Linked DNA regions of Homo sapiens: all the other regions are linked to region 1. The links are contacts of gene promoters, found by promoter capture Hi-C in human tissues and cell types (Jung and others, 2019). All regions are on one chromosome and are shown on one strand. Each heading gives the region's core, a stretch centred on a gene start or on the middle of the fragment in contact. The rest is flanking DNA. Distances are from core to core; before and after follow the strand shown. Region 1 holds the start of TMPRSS12 (transmembrane serine protease 12). Region 2 holds the start of POU6F1 (POU class 6 homeobox 1). Region 3 overlaps BIN2 (bridging integrator 2).

Region 1 (4,482 bases), core at 463-2,962:
AAGTGGTAGCCCATCACCTCTACTTTCTATTTACTAGAAGTGAGTCACGAAATCCAGCCAACACTAAAGGAGAGGGAACTGACTAAGGCTGTGAATACCAGGAGACAGGGTTCATTGGCGGGCATTTTGTAGGCTACCTACCATACCAGAGGATATTTGTCTGCAGATAGGAGTGATCCCACCAAAGACAGGAAATGACAATGCAGGAGAGGAGAAAAGGCAGAGGAAATCCAGGAAGAAGACCTCTGCAGTTATTGATCCACTGCCTTTTTCATTTTATTTGGAGAGATGGGGTCTTGCTTTGTTGCCCAGGCTGGAGTACTGTGGCTATTCACAGGCATGATCTCACTACCAATCAACACAGGAATTTTGATCAACTCCATTTCCAGTCTGGGCCAGTTACCCCTCCTTAGGCAACCTGGTGGTTCCCCACTACCCGAAGGTCACCATATTGATGCCAAACTTAGTTGACCAGTTGACATAGCATACTACAGTCCAGAACTCCTGGGCTCAAGCAATCCTCCTGCCTCAGCCTCCTGAGTAGTAAAACTAAAAAATATATTGTTTAAAGCAGTGCTGTATAATAGAACTACAGGCATGTGCCACCGTGCCCAGCCCACTGCCTGTGTCACTGCTATTTGATGACTTGGCTGCATATACTTGCTTTATGAGTATGTTAAACCTCTACTATCTGTCATAGCAAGACCCGTCATCCTTATCACGTTGGCTATGGGTTTAAAAAAAGAAAAAAAAAGTCATCTTGCCTTGTTTACAAAGGCATACACAATCTGACCACATCTCACACACACAGAAATACACACACCCCAACTGTGTTTTTCTCCTCCTAATATCACCTTCCACTAAAATATCTGGGGAATAAGGACTTTGTTTCTTGTCAGCCCTCAGAGATCAGCTCATGCTGCAATTTGTTTCTCCAATATCACCTCCTCCACCCCAATTTCGGCACAGCTCTGAGACTCTGCTCCCTTCCCCACATGTTACCATGTGTAAGCCCCAAACTCATATACTCCTTTTATCTAATGCTGCCAACTGCACCAGCCTCGGAAGGATGGTATGAGCAAGGCAACTGTCCTTTTATTGACCTCTACGTTAACTCTCCACCACCTCACCAACTTCCCACAGCCCACACGGTCTTCTTATTACTGAAGGTGTTGGGTTAACAAAGGCAAAGTTCAGTATAGGTCAAGATAGGAATGACAGAACAATTTAAAACTGAACATTAGGTATCACTCTTAAAAACTCTGGGTTATGTTAAAGAAAAATTATTCAGTGATACTCATTAAAGCACAGCAAGGCAGACTTTATTCAGGACCATCCAGATAGGGATAGGGACCATGGCAATGGGATTTTGTAATGGGTAGAGGGACTGGGCTAAAATCCAAACAGAGCAGAGCCAAGGGAGAATTTACAGCCACGGAGCAGGAGAGACGTGTCAGTGGATGGAAAATTACTAAGAGGTAGCATCAGGAGTAATGGCATTCCGGCTAACCGACCTAACAGGATTCTTGCTGGACAGGCCAGGGTGATCAGACATCACCTGGGGGATAGTGGTGGATGAGGAAGCCGATCAGACCTTGAGGGTGAGGGGTTCTTTCTAAACTGACCTACCTATTCCTCGGCCGCCTCCCACACCTCCGGGCCTCACTCGCGCCTCCCCGCCAGGCCGTGCGCCCCGCGTGCCCAGGGCGGGTGGGAAGTACCTGCCGCCATCTTGCTCACCAGCCTCCAAAATGCGGCTGGGGCTCCTGAGCGTGGCGCTGTTGTTTGTGGGGAGCTCTCACTTATACTCAGACCACTACTCGCCCTCTGGAAGGCACAGGCTCGGCCCCTCGCCGGAACCGGCGGCTAGTTCCCAGCAGGCTGAGGCCGTCCGCAAGAGGCTCCGGCGGCGGAGGGAGGGAGGGGCGCATGCAGAGGGCAGTACCTGTTCGTGCCTGTCTCTGGGGAGCCTCTCTTACCTTTTCCCCACCGCTATAGTCTTTGAATTCGGGTTTCTCCTTTTCTGTTGTCCCAATGGCCTTTAACCAAAATTTTACATACCTAAGCAGTTTCTAGACCGGCTGTAATAACAGTAGTTGTAATAGTGAAATGACACATTTGTATTGTGAATCTGTATTTTCTCCTCAAAACATTCTGGGTTTTATCATCCCCATTTTATAGATTAATAAGTCAGGGGATAAAGAGTTGAAAGGGAGGGCTATTAGGTGACCATTTCATACTATAGTTGAGAAAAATTAGCCCAACAAGTGAAATGGTGAGCATTAGAATTTGCGGCTCTCGACTCACCGTTCCCAGGCTCTTTAACTGCTATTTCACACAGGGAAGAATGTGATACGTGGCCAAAAATTTTTATTTTTATATTTTTGGGGAATAGAGTTTTAAAATTAATGAATTGTGTTGACTTCATGTCTATTTGTAAGTAATCGATTATGGCATATTTGTCTTAACTCTCCAAGTTTCTTTCAAAATATGGGCGTGTCTCCGGTATGTTAGCTTGCTTTGTGTTTTTAACATAGGAATTTAAAGGATTGCATTAATATGTTCAGCTTAGGAAGTAACACATACTATAGATGCTCAGTCCAAATAATATATCATTTTTATTTTTAGATTGTGGAACAGCACCGCTTAAGGATGTGTTGCAAGGGTCTCGGATTATAGGGGGCACCGAAGCACAAGCTGGCGCATGGCCGTGGGTGGTGAGCCTGCAGATTAAATATGGCCGTGTTCTTGTTCATGTATGTGGGGGAACCCTAGTGAGAGAGAGGTGGGTCCTCACAGCTGCCCACTGCACTAAAGACGCTAGGTACGTATTCAGAACACAACTATTTTTATGCTCTTAGGGGATATTTTGAAGTGATAGAGGACCATTTAACTTCAGCCATTTTCAGCTAAGCTATGTTTGCAAATAGCCATAATGCCTTATATATAGTACAGTGTATTTGTTGAAAGGAATCCTTTATTTATTATTATTATTATTATACTTTAAGTTCTGGGGTACATGTGCAGAACGTGCAGGTTTGTTACATAGGTATACATGTCCATGGTGGTTTGCTGCACCCATCAACCCATCATCTAACTACATTAGGTATTTCTCTTAATGCTATCCCTCCCCTAGCCCCCTACCCAGGAATCCTTTATTTTTTACTTTTTTTTTTTTGAAATGGAGTGTCACTCTGTTACCCAGGCTGGAGTGCAGTGGTGCAATCTTGGCTCACTGCAACCTCCGCCTCCTGGGTTCATGCGATTCTTCTGCCTCAGCCCCCGGAGTAGCTGGAATTACAGATGCCTGCCATCATGTCCAGCTAATTTTTGTATTTTTAGTAGAAAAGGGGGTTTCACCATGTTGGCCAGGCTGGTCTTGAACTCTTAACCTCACGTGATCTGCCCGCCTCAGCCTCCCAAAGTTCTGGGATTACAGGTGTAAGCCACCATGCTCGATCATGGATCTTTTAAATTAGAGGCTGGTAAACTTCCTATAAAGGTAGTAAATATTTTACACTTTGAAGGTCATATGGTCTCTCTCACAATTGCATGAAAACCAGCACTGAAAATAAGTAATTGAATGAGTGTGGCTATAATCCAATAAAACTTTATGAACACTGAAATCTGAATTTCATATGTTTAACGTGTCATGAAATATTGTGGTTGATTCAGCCATTTAAAAATGTAGAGTAGGGCATGTTGGCTCATATTTGTTATCCCAATGCTTTGGGAAGCCAAGACGGGAGGATCACTTGAGGCCAGGAGTTTGAGACCAGCCTGGGAAATATAGCGAGACCCTGTCTCTATATTTAAAAAAATTGTTAATGTAAAAAACATGCTTTATGGACTGTATGAAAACAAGAGACATGCCAGATTTGGCCTTCACTATTAGACTCTTTGAAAAAGAGACTCTCTTTGCTTCATCTCCATTGACCCATAAAATCCAACTGCAGTCTGATTTTTGTGGCCAAATGCTGTTAAAGATCCACTTCCATGCCAAATCCAATGACTTCATCTCAGTTCCCATCCTTTTTGACCTCTACAGCCTTTGGCAATGTTGACCACATTCTCTTCTTGAAATTATCTCTTTTCTTGATTTCTAAGACACCATTCTCTACTTTTTTCTCCTGCTTCTTTGATGAGTCTTTGTCATCCTTTACATTGCAGTGTTTTCTAGAGTTTGCCCTCTGCCCTCTGTCATTCTGTACTCTTTCCTAGAGATGTCTAATCTACCTCTGTTTCAGCAATCACCATGTGCTGTCAACTCCTAGGTCTCTCCTGATGAGTCATATTTCCAGCTTTATTGGAGTCACATTTTAAATAAGTCCAAAATGGAATTTACTTTCCTCTGATACTATTTCTTCTCTATTTTCTCAGTTGATAGCATCATCAACAGCTCCATTACCCAGAGAGTTATCTAATTTCTCCCACTTCAGCTATCCAAGTAGTCTCCAAGGCCTGTGAAGGCTCTCTGTGCAG
Region 2 (4,549 bases), core at 492-2,991, 380 kb after region 1:
TTTTCTTAACTGCCAGCTAGTACTTCCAGGAACAAAACAGAATAAATGGCTACATACACACACACTGACACACAATCACTCTATGGTATTACCTTGTTAGTTTTAATGTTTAGCATCTACTTGTCCACCCCCAGAATAAAAACTCCATGATAGAAGTTTTGTCTGAATTGTTCAGAGCATGGCACTGAGTGGGTATTTTTGTTGAACTAATGAAGAAATGAAGTTCTACAGCAGATAAGCGGAGTACCAGGTCACAGAAGTATCACTTTGAGGACCAGGACTTGAATGAAAATGGAATATATGGAATTATTCCTCAGAAGGCCTCTGCCAGTCAATGGTGGCTGCCTTAGATTGCTAAATAAGGGGCATGGGACACATGTATATGAACAATTGAAGACCAGCCCTCTACTTTTGGAACAAGGAATTTGGGAAGGGCAGATGAGGTTAAAAATCTCTGCAAAGAGCCTCTTTTCTTTGGCCCAGGAATGCTTCCCGAACTCTTCTGATTTCCCCCTGCCCAGCCGCAGAGGCTATTCTGTGAAGGTTTTAGGCTTCCAGTCGGGCTGAGTGGGGTATTCTGCCGCGAAAGTGGAGGTTAGAGGGTATGCTGGGAGCTCCCTTGGCCTTGCCAGGTGAGCCTGCCCAGGGAGCCTGCATCGGGCCCATTATTATGACTATTTATTAATAATAATATCGATATTAAATATTTATGAAGTGCTCATGCTCTGCTAGAAGGTGGCCCTCCCATCACTGACCCACCCTTCCAGCAACGCCTGGGTCCCTACCCCCGGGTCCCACCGGTCGTCCCGGAGTTTGTTCATTCGGGAGAACCGTGACAGGTCACCCTGGCCGCCCCAGCTGGCCCTAACCGCCGGGAACCCAGGCGTCCGTGTTCTCCAGAGAGGCAAGGATCCGCTTCTGGTCGCCACTGGTTCTGTGTACAGAGCGTCCCCTGTGGTCCGCACCCCACAAGGGCTCCAGGGGCAGAAACGGGGAGGGGCCAGGTCGGGGTTCCCCACCGGGTCCACCTGGCGGCCGCCCCCTCCGCTCCAGGTCCAGAGCGGCCCGCGGGCGGGCGAGGGCGCGGCCCCCGGGTGTCTAGCCCCAGCTGGGCAACCGCGCGCTGTCCCGCTCCCGCAGCTCCCCGCCGCCCCGGCCCAGCATCCCGCCGCCCCGGCCCCGCGGCTTTTTTTCTCTTTATCATAAATATATAAATTATGCTAATTACGGGCATTGCATATTAACCAAACCCGAAACCTCCCCTGCCCGGCCCCCTCCCCCTCCGTGCAAACCCCTCCCCGCCCCGGACCCCGCTACTTACCGGAGCCCGAGCCCGAGCCGCCTTCGCCGCGGGTGTCTGGCGGCCACCGATTAGAGATTCATCTCACAGCCCGGGCCAGGGGGCCGGGGCCGGGGCCGGGGCCACGGCGGCCGCCGCCCGCAGACAAAGAAGCCAGTGCGGCTTGGCTGGGCTCGGCTCGGCCCGGGAGCTGGTCGGGACCCGCCGCCGCCCCCAGGCCCCCAGCCTGGGCTGGGCAGAGCCGAAGGGGGCTCCGCAGGCTAAGCCGGGCGGAGAGGGGACGGCCGGGAAGCGGGAAGGGGAAGCCGGGTGGGGGGGCGGTCAGGTATATATTTTTCTTCGTTCCCCCTTCCACGACCCCCCCCTTTTCCCTCCCCCCCTTTTTTCCCTCCTTCTGCTACTTGGATTTTTTTAGCTGCTGCGTCATGAGCATAATTTATGCAAAGAGCTTTGCCGCATGCTGCACCGCCCGCGCCAGCCGCCGGGGGCGGCGGGCTGGGAGGGCGGTCAGGGAAGGGAGGGGAGCACGGGAGCCAGGAGCGAGGGGTGGGGGTGGGGAGGGGACCCTCTGGCCCTGGCCGAGCGGGAGGTCCCGGAGGCTCTCTCCCGGGACAGGGATGGACGGTCAGTGGGTCTGGTTACTCAGCCCCTCCGAGGTGCCGCGGAGGTGGTTTCATTTCGGAAGGTGCCAGAGTAGGAGCTGGAGTCCGGACCCTCCATGCCACATGGCCTTCAGCTGAGGGTTGGGGCGGTGACTCCCGGCCACCGCCTTTCCTCTAGGTAGTCAACTGTCCTCAATGTTGAAAGTCAAGTTTATGTCTATCCCTCCCTCCCTAGAAAGGCGGGGGAACTCAGACATCGCTCAGCCAACGTGGAGAACCTCTGAACAGCTGTGCCCCAGCGCCAAAGCAGCGAAGGGTCCCAGGTCTCTCACCCGGTGGCGGCCGTGGGCTGTGTTGTCTAAAAGCAGATTTCCGGCCTTCTTGTCCAAGTAGACAAGGAAATGTGAACAGAAAGACAAAGTTCAGTGGAATGGTGAAAAACCTCTAGCAGCTTCTTAAGGTAGAGAGGGGACCAGAAAAGGGGTGGATGTGGGTGGCTGAGGGAAAGCAGATTGGAGAAGTGGTGGACAACTGAAAGAGGAAAAAGTTGGAAGACCAAAGTGGAAGCGTGGGAATGGAGAGAAGAACTGGGAAGGAAGGAGGCTCTGTAAATCCAGTGAATGTGGATCCCAATACTGAGGCCACCTGCTGTCATCCTAGGCTGTTCCCCCTCCCACCCTCTCCCGATATTTGGTGGTCTGAGGATAGCTAGAGGTAGATGGGTTAGAGGCAGTGTGAGAATGCAGTTGGAGGCCTCAGTCCTCCCCGGGACTGCTCCGTAAGGCCTCGTGGTGGAAGGGCATTGAATGGCCCGGCCTCGTCGTTAACCTGGCCAGTGGACTAGGCTGTTATCAGCTTGCTGTTTCCATCTGGAAGTGAGCAGGTACTGCTGGCGGCGGATTTATGAGTAACCAATGTATTAGGAGTCAGAATACTTAGGTTTTAGTCCCAACTCTTCCACTAGCCGTCCAGGCAAGTAATTTAACTTCTTCATTACTTATAAAACAAGGATAATATTTATAATGACATTTATAATGACTACTTCATAGGGTTAAGTTTGTGAGCCTGTATGTGAAAAAACTGAAAGCTGCAAGCTCTATACAACTGTAAGGTGTCATTCCTTGTACAATAGTTTGAACTCGTTTTAATGGCCCTGTGAAACTCTACTGCGTGGCTTGATATTACAGTTCTTGGGGTTTTTGTTTGGCCGGTAGTCCCTGTAGTTTCTCTCCCTGGACTGTGAATTCTTTGAGAGCACTGGTTGTGACTTACTCATGTTTGTATTTCCCACTACTCTTTATGTGAAGGAGGGGCTCAGTATTGCTGCTGAACTTTGTCACATGAAGGTTGAAACTTTTCATTTATGTCACTTGGTTTGGTGCTACACATAGATCAAAGGCTTTGGATAGCATGGATATCAGCGACAGTTTGAAGAAAGAAATATGGATGTGATCAGAGGAGTTCAGGGAGACATACATAAAAATGTTAATCACGGTTTTCTTTATGTTGTATACACTTCTGCATTGCTTAAATATTTGATGAGCATATATTACTTTTTGTTTCTGTGTTTATTGGGGCATAACATGTACACAGTATGTGTATACCTTGATAAATTTTTACATGTATATACATATGTACGTGTATGTATGTGTGTATACATATGTACGTGTATGTATGTGTGTATACATATGTACGTGTATGTATGTGTGTGTATACATATGTACGTGTATGTGTGTGTATACATATGTACGTGTATGTGTGTATACATATGTACGTGTATATGTGTGTATACATATGTACGTGTATATGTGTGTATACATATGTACGTGTATATGTGTGTGTACATATGTACGTGTATGTGTGTGTATACATATGTACGTGTGTGTGTATACATATATACACGTGTATAGATACGTGTATACATATATACATGTCTATATATACATGTATATACTCACACACATATATATATCCATGTAATCCCCACCCAAAACAAGATATAGAGCCTTTCCAAGACCTGAGGATTCCCTTATGTACCTTCACCGGCCATAAATTCCCAAAGTAACCATTATTCTGATTTCTGTCACCATAGATTGATTACTTGAGCTGATTCTTGAACTTCTCATAAATGGAATCAGACAATATGCAATCTTTTGTGTTTGGCTTCTGTCACTCAACAAAATTTTTTTTTTTGAGACGGAGTCTTGCTCTGTCGCCCAGGCTGGAGTGCAGTGGTGTGATCTCGGCTCACTGCAACCTCCGCCTCTCGGGTTCAAGTGGTTCTCCTGCCTCAGCCTCCCAAGTAGCTGGGACTGCAGGTGCGTGCCATCACGCCCAGCTAATTTTTTTTTTCTTTTTTTTTTCGAGATGGAGTCTCGCTCTGTCGCCCAGGCTGGAGTGCAATGGTGTGATCTCAGCTCACTGCAACCTCCACCTCCTAGGTTCGAGTGATTCTCCTGCCTCAGCCTCCTGAGTAGCTGGGATTACAAGCACACGCCACCATGCCCGGCTAATTTTTGTATTTTTAGTAGAGATGGGGTTTCACCATGTTGGTCAGGCTGGTCTTGAACTCCTGACCTCATGATCCGCCCACCTCAGCCTCCTAAAGTGCTGGGATTACAGGCATGAGCCACCACGCTCCCAGCTA
Region 3 (4,820 bases), core at 1,978-4,477, 440 kb after region 1:
CACACAACCATGCCTGGCTAATTTATTAAAAAAAAAATTTGTTGCCTAGAATGGTCTTGAACTCCTGGGCTCAAGTGATCCTCCCACCTCAGCCTCCCAAAGTGCTGGGATTACAGGTGTGAGCCCCGGCACCTAGCCTCCTTAAGGAATGAGCATTGTGAATTGGGTTAACTGATCAGGTTTTTCTCTTCTTGGATTTTAGAAAGTCTGGAACCAATTTCATGGTCATCCTTAGTAAGCTTATTTTATAGAATGCATTTTTTATACTTGCCTAATTCATGGCTCCATTTTACATCACTATCCTGTCTCATATAATTCTGAGTTTTTCTGCTGTATGTTGTGTATATGTGTGTATGTTAATATAATAAACATATATATATGCAGTTCACATGCTGCATAATGACATTTTGATCAACAATGGACTCTATATACAAAGGTGGTCCCATAACATTTTAATGGAGCTGAAAAATTTCTATTGCCTAGTGATGTGGCAGCTATTGTTAACATTGTAGCCTTTATAACATCACAGCACAACACATTACTCACATATTTGTGATGATGCTGGTATAAACAAACTTACAGTGCTGCCAGTTGTAAAAAGTATAGCACATGCAATTATGTACAGTACATAACACTTGATAACAATAAACAACTATATTACTTGATGTATTTAATATACTATGCTTTTAAAAATATTTTTCTATATATATTATTTTTGAGACACAGTCTCACTCCATTGCCCAGGTTGGAGTGCAGTGGCACAATCCTGGCTCACTGCAGCTTCTTTGTCCCGGGTTCAAGTGATTCTCATGTTCTCATGCCACAGCCTTCCAAGTAGCTGGGATTACGGGTGCGTGCCACCATGCCCGGCTAATTTTTGTATTTTTAGTAGAGATGGAGTTTCACCATGTTGGTCAGGCTGGTCTTGAACTCCTGGTCTCAAGTGATCTGCCTGCCTCAGCCTCCCAAAGTGCTGGGATTACTGGCATGAACCACCACATCAGCCTACAATACTTTTTATTATTATTTTAGTGTGTTTCCTACTTATTAAAAAAAAAGTTCTGCTAATTGGCCAGGTGCGTTGGCTCACACCTGTAATCCCAGCATCCCAGCACTTTGGGAGGCTGAGGCGGGAGGATCATGAGGTCAGGAGTTCCAGATCAGCCTGACCAACATGGTGAAACCCTGTCTCTACCAAAAATACAAAAATTAGCCAGGCATGGTGGCGCCACCGCCTGTAATCCCAGCTACTCAGGAGGCTGAGGCAGGAGAATCGCTTGAACCCAGGAGGCGGAGGTTGCAGTGAGCCGAGATTGCACCACTGTACACTGTACTCCAGCCTGGGCGACCGAGAGAGACTCCATCTCAAAAAAAAAAAAAAAAAAAAGTTCTGCTTATTTAAAAAAAACATTAACTGTAAAACAGCCTCAAGTAGATCCTTCAGGAAGAGGCGTTGTTATTACCAGAGATGACAGGTCCATTTGTGGTAGTGCCCTGAAGACCTTCTAGTGGGACAAAATGTAAAGGTAGAAGACAGTGATATGGGTGATCCTGACCGTAGGCCAATGTGTATGTTTGCGTGTTTTTATTTACTTGTTTATAGACGGTGTCTAGCTATGTTGCCCAGGTTGTATTTGAACTCGTGGGCTCAAGTGATCCTCCTGCCTCAGCCTCCTGCATCGCTGGAACTACTACAGGCACATGCCACAACACACCCAGCTCTGTGTCTTAGTTTTTAACAAAAAAAGTTTTAAAAAGAAACAGAAAAAATACAGAATAAAGCTTACAGAATAAGGATATAAAGAAAATATTTTTTGGCCGGGTGTGGTGGCTCCCGCCTGTAACCCCAGCACTTTGGGAGGCCAAGGCAGGTGCATCATCTGAGGTCGGGAGTTTGAGACCAGCCTGACCAACATGGAGAAACCCCGTCTCTACTAAAAGTACAAAATTAGCTGGGCGTGGTGGCGCATGCCTGTAATCCCAGCTACTCAGGAGGCTGAGGCAGGAGAATTGCTTGAACCCAGAGGCCAAGGCTGCGGTGAGCCGAGATCATGCCATTGCACTCCAACCTGGGCAACAAGAGTGAAACTCCGTCTCAAAAAAAAAAAAAAGAAAAGAAAAATATTTTTTAATGGTGTAGCCTAAGTGTACAGTGTTTATAGTCTATAGGAGTGTAAGTAATGTCCTAGGCCTTCACATTCACTCACCACTCACTCACTGACTCACCCAGAGAAGCTTCCACTCCTGCAAGCTCCACTCATGATAGTGCCCTATACAAGTGTATCACTTTTTATTTTCTATATGCTATTTTTACTGTACTTTTCTATGTTTAGATACACAAATATTAACCACTGTGTCACAGCTGCCTACAGAATTCAGTAAAGTAACATGCTGTATAGGTTTGCAGCCTAGAAGCAATAGGCTATACCATACAGCCACACATAATGACAAAATCGTCTAATAATGCATTTCTCAGAGCATATCCTTGTTGTTGAGCAACACATTACTGTATAATATGACCTTTTTGCATTTAAAAAAAATATCTTAACCTCTTTAACTCCTTTTTGAAATAATTTGAGATTTAATTAAATAAATACCTAGAAGATAGGGCCAGTTTAAGGTCAAGTATAGGAAAATGGGCACGGAGATACCACGAAGTCCCAGTTCATTCTTGTTTCCTCTGATTCCCACCTGCTTGACTGCCCTAAGGGTATGGTTCACTGCCGGATTCCCCTTGTAGCCTGTGGTGAAGATTCCAGCCTTTTCCCAAACCCCTGTCAATCTAATGCCCAATCTATTCTCTGTATATCTGGTCTTACCTCTTCTTGAGGTTCAGGTGCTGTGAGGTTGTTGTTTTCTGGTACCATGGAGACTTGAAGCTGGTCTTGGCCCTACAAAGAGAAGAGTTCTGCCAGTAAGAGGTGGCTCAACCTTTCCAGCCTCTCAGCATAGAAGTGTCTTCTGTGCCTTATACTTTACAAGGGTCTCAGTATTTGTACTATTACAAAGGGCAAAATACAGTGTTGTTTCACCAGAGCCTGAAGGCATCGGGAAAGGCTTTCATCCATCCTCTTTTACAGATGAATAAACTAAGATTCAAAGGGTAAAAAGACTTGCTGGGACAGGAAACCAGGTCTTTGAATTCCTGAGTTGTTTCCATGATCAAACACCATGTAATCTGTGTGACATGGTGTGGATGTGTATCTATAAGGGAGTGCGAGGTCTTAAAATTACTACCTGCCACTTTTAGATGAACCGTCCTCAAGAATGTACTGCAACTCTCACACTTAAGTGATCCTAATTCATGACACGCAGTTAGGAGAAGCAAGTGGTAAAATAATTTCTTTGGGAAAAATTTTAGGTTCTGAGATGGGAACCCAAGGTGTAGGAAGCCCAGTCTAGACCACGTGCAGGGGTGCACACCTGTAGTCCCAGCTCCTTGAGAGGCTGAGGCAGGAGGATCACTTGAGGCCAGGAGTATCAAGGTTGCAGTGCACTATGATTGCACCTGTGAATACCCACTGCACTCCAGCCTGGGCAACATAGTGAGATCATCTCTAAAAATATAAATTTTAAAAAAAAGAAAGAAAGCCCTGCCTAGAAACTGCTATGCTAGGGGAAGACCCTGTGAGGTTTAAAATAAGTTTTTAAAACATGAAATTTAATTTACAAACTATAAATTCATATTTTAAAAACAGAACCAATTTCTTTTTAATTTTTTCTTTCTTTCTTTTTTTTTTTTTTTGAGAAGGAATCTGGCTCTGTCACCCAGGCTGGAGTGCAGTGGCGTGATCTTGGTTCACTGCAACCTCCACCTCCCAGGTTCAAGCGATTCTCCTGCCTCAGTCTCCCAAGTAGCTGGGATTACAGGCGCCCACCACCATGCCTGACTTTTAGTAGAGATGAGGCTTCACTATGTTAGCAAGGCTGGTCTCAACCTCCCAACCTCAAGTGATCCACTCCCCTCAGCCTCCCAAAGTGTTGGGATTACAGGTGTGAGCCATGGCACCTGGCCAACAGAACCAATTTCTAACAGTGTGATAGCCACTTGAAATTCCAAGATTTCTCCTTCAAGGACATTTTCTTTCTTTTTACTCCCTCCTCCCTTTCCAGGTCATGAATTAGCTCAGAGGTGATGTTACATCACCTCCCGGAAAGTTATCAAAACCTTCCATCTCTCTGAGATGATTCAAATGGTAAGCAAGAACAGATTTTTTCCCAGTAATTTTTTTTCAAAAATGGCTATGTTTTTTCCCAGTTATATTTATATTTACCCATTTTTACATGTGACATGTCCATAATTCTGCCTGAGAGAAAATATGATTTATAATGCATCTGCAAGGGAAGTGAGCATACACAGGCTTCAGAGGATTGATGACACGAATAGGCTAGGATCTAAGATGCTCTAGTTGCTTAATTCTACAGGAAAAATATTTCTCCTTAGCTGATGACCAAAGCAATCCCACCAGAGAGGCTAAGAGTAAGGAAATATTATAAATCTAAAATATAAGGAGACAGACTCAGGCGGAAGGAGAGTGTATCCTGTACCTCTTTTCCAGGGAGGACAGTGTTACTAGCCTGTTTCTTAAAATGGTCAGAAAGAGTCTTGGCTCCTATAAACTCCTCCCTTCAAAAAGATGACTCCAAGAATGCAAGCTTGTTTTATCATTCCCCAGAGGCAATCAAAAAGTCACTCTATTACTGTCTCCATCTAAAATCATATAATACATTATAAAATCAAATTGAAATCAATTCAACCATTGAGTTGCTCTTTTCAGTGCAGAAAAATGAGAAGTGGCTATGCTTACCTACTCAAAACC

Evidence for each region. The method cuts DNA at HindIII sites, captures the fragments that hold promoters and counts their contacts. A contact is called where the count stands out against the background at its distance.
Region 2: the fragment with the promoter of POU6F1 here is called in contact with the fragment with the promoter of TMPRSS12 in region 1 in 3 of the 25 tissues and cell types used here (adrenal gland, aorta and small bowel).
Region 3: a fragment that was not itself captured here is called in contact with the fragment with the promoter of TMPRSS12 in region 1 in 3 of the 25 tissues and cell types used here (IMR-90 fibroblasts, lymphoblastoid cells and mesenchymal stem cells).

What each region holds. Positions count from the first base shown.
Region 1 is chr12:50,841,214-50,845,695 of GRCh38, forward strand. It overlaps TMPRSS12 (transmembrane serine protease 12), which reads left to right and starts at 1,713. Exons shown (of 5, transcript NM_182559.3): 1 at 1,713-1,938; 2 at 2,629-2,824. The coding sequence starts at 1,752. It also overlaps the pseudogene RN7SL519P. The HindIII fragment of the contact is 10,446 bases long and covers 1-4,482 here.
Region 2 is chr12:51,216,321-51,220,869 of GRCh38, forward strand. POU6F1 (POU class 6 homeobox 1) reads right to left here and starts at 1,742. Exons shown (of 11, transcript NM_001330422.2): 1 at 1,322-1,742. RefSeq lists silencers at 916-1,175, 1,406-1,565, 1,766-1,915, 4,023-4,202 and an enhancer at 2,066-2,125. The HindIII fragment of the contact is 30,817 bases long and covers 1-4,549 here.
Region 3 is chr12:51,281,897-51,286,716 of GRCh38, forward strand. It overlaps BIN2 (bridging integrator 2), which reads right to left. Exons shown (of 13, transcript NM_016293.4): 12 at 2,820-2,891. Among named protein-coding and RNA genes, the nearest start is that of SMAGP, 14 kb to the left of the region's middle. The HindIII fragment of the contact is 4,435 bases long and covers 1,011-4,820 here.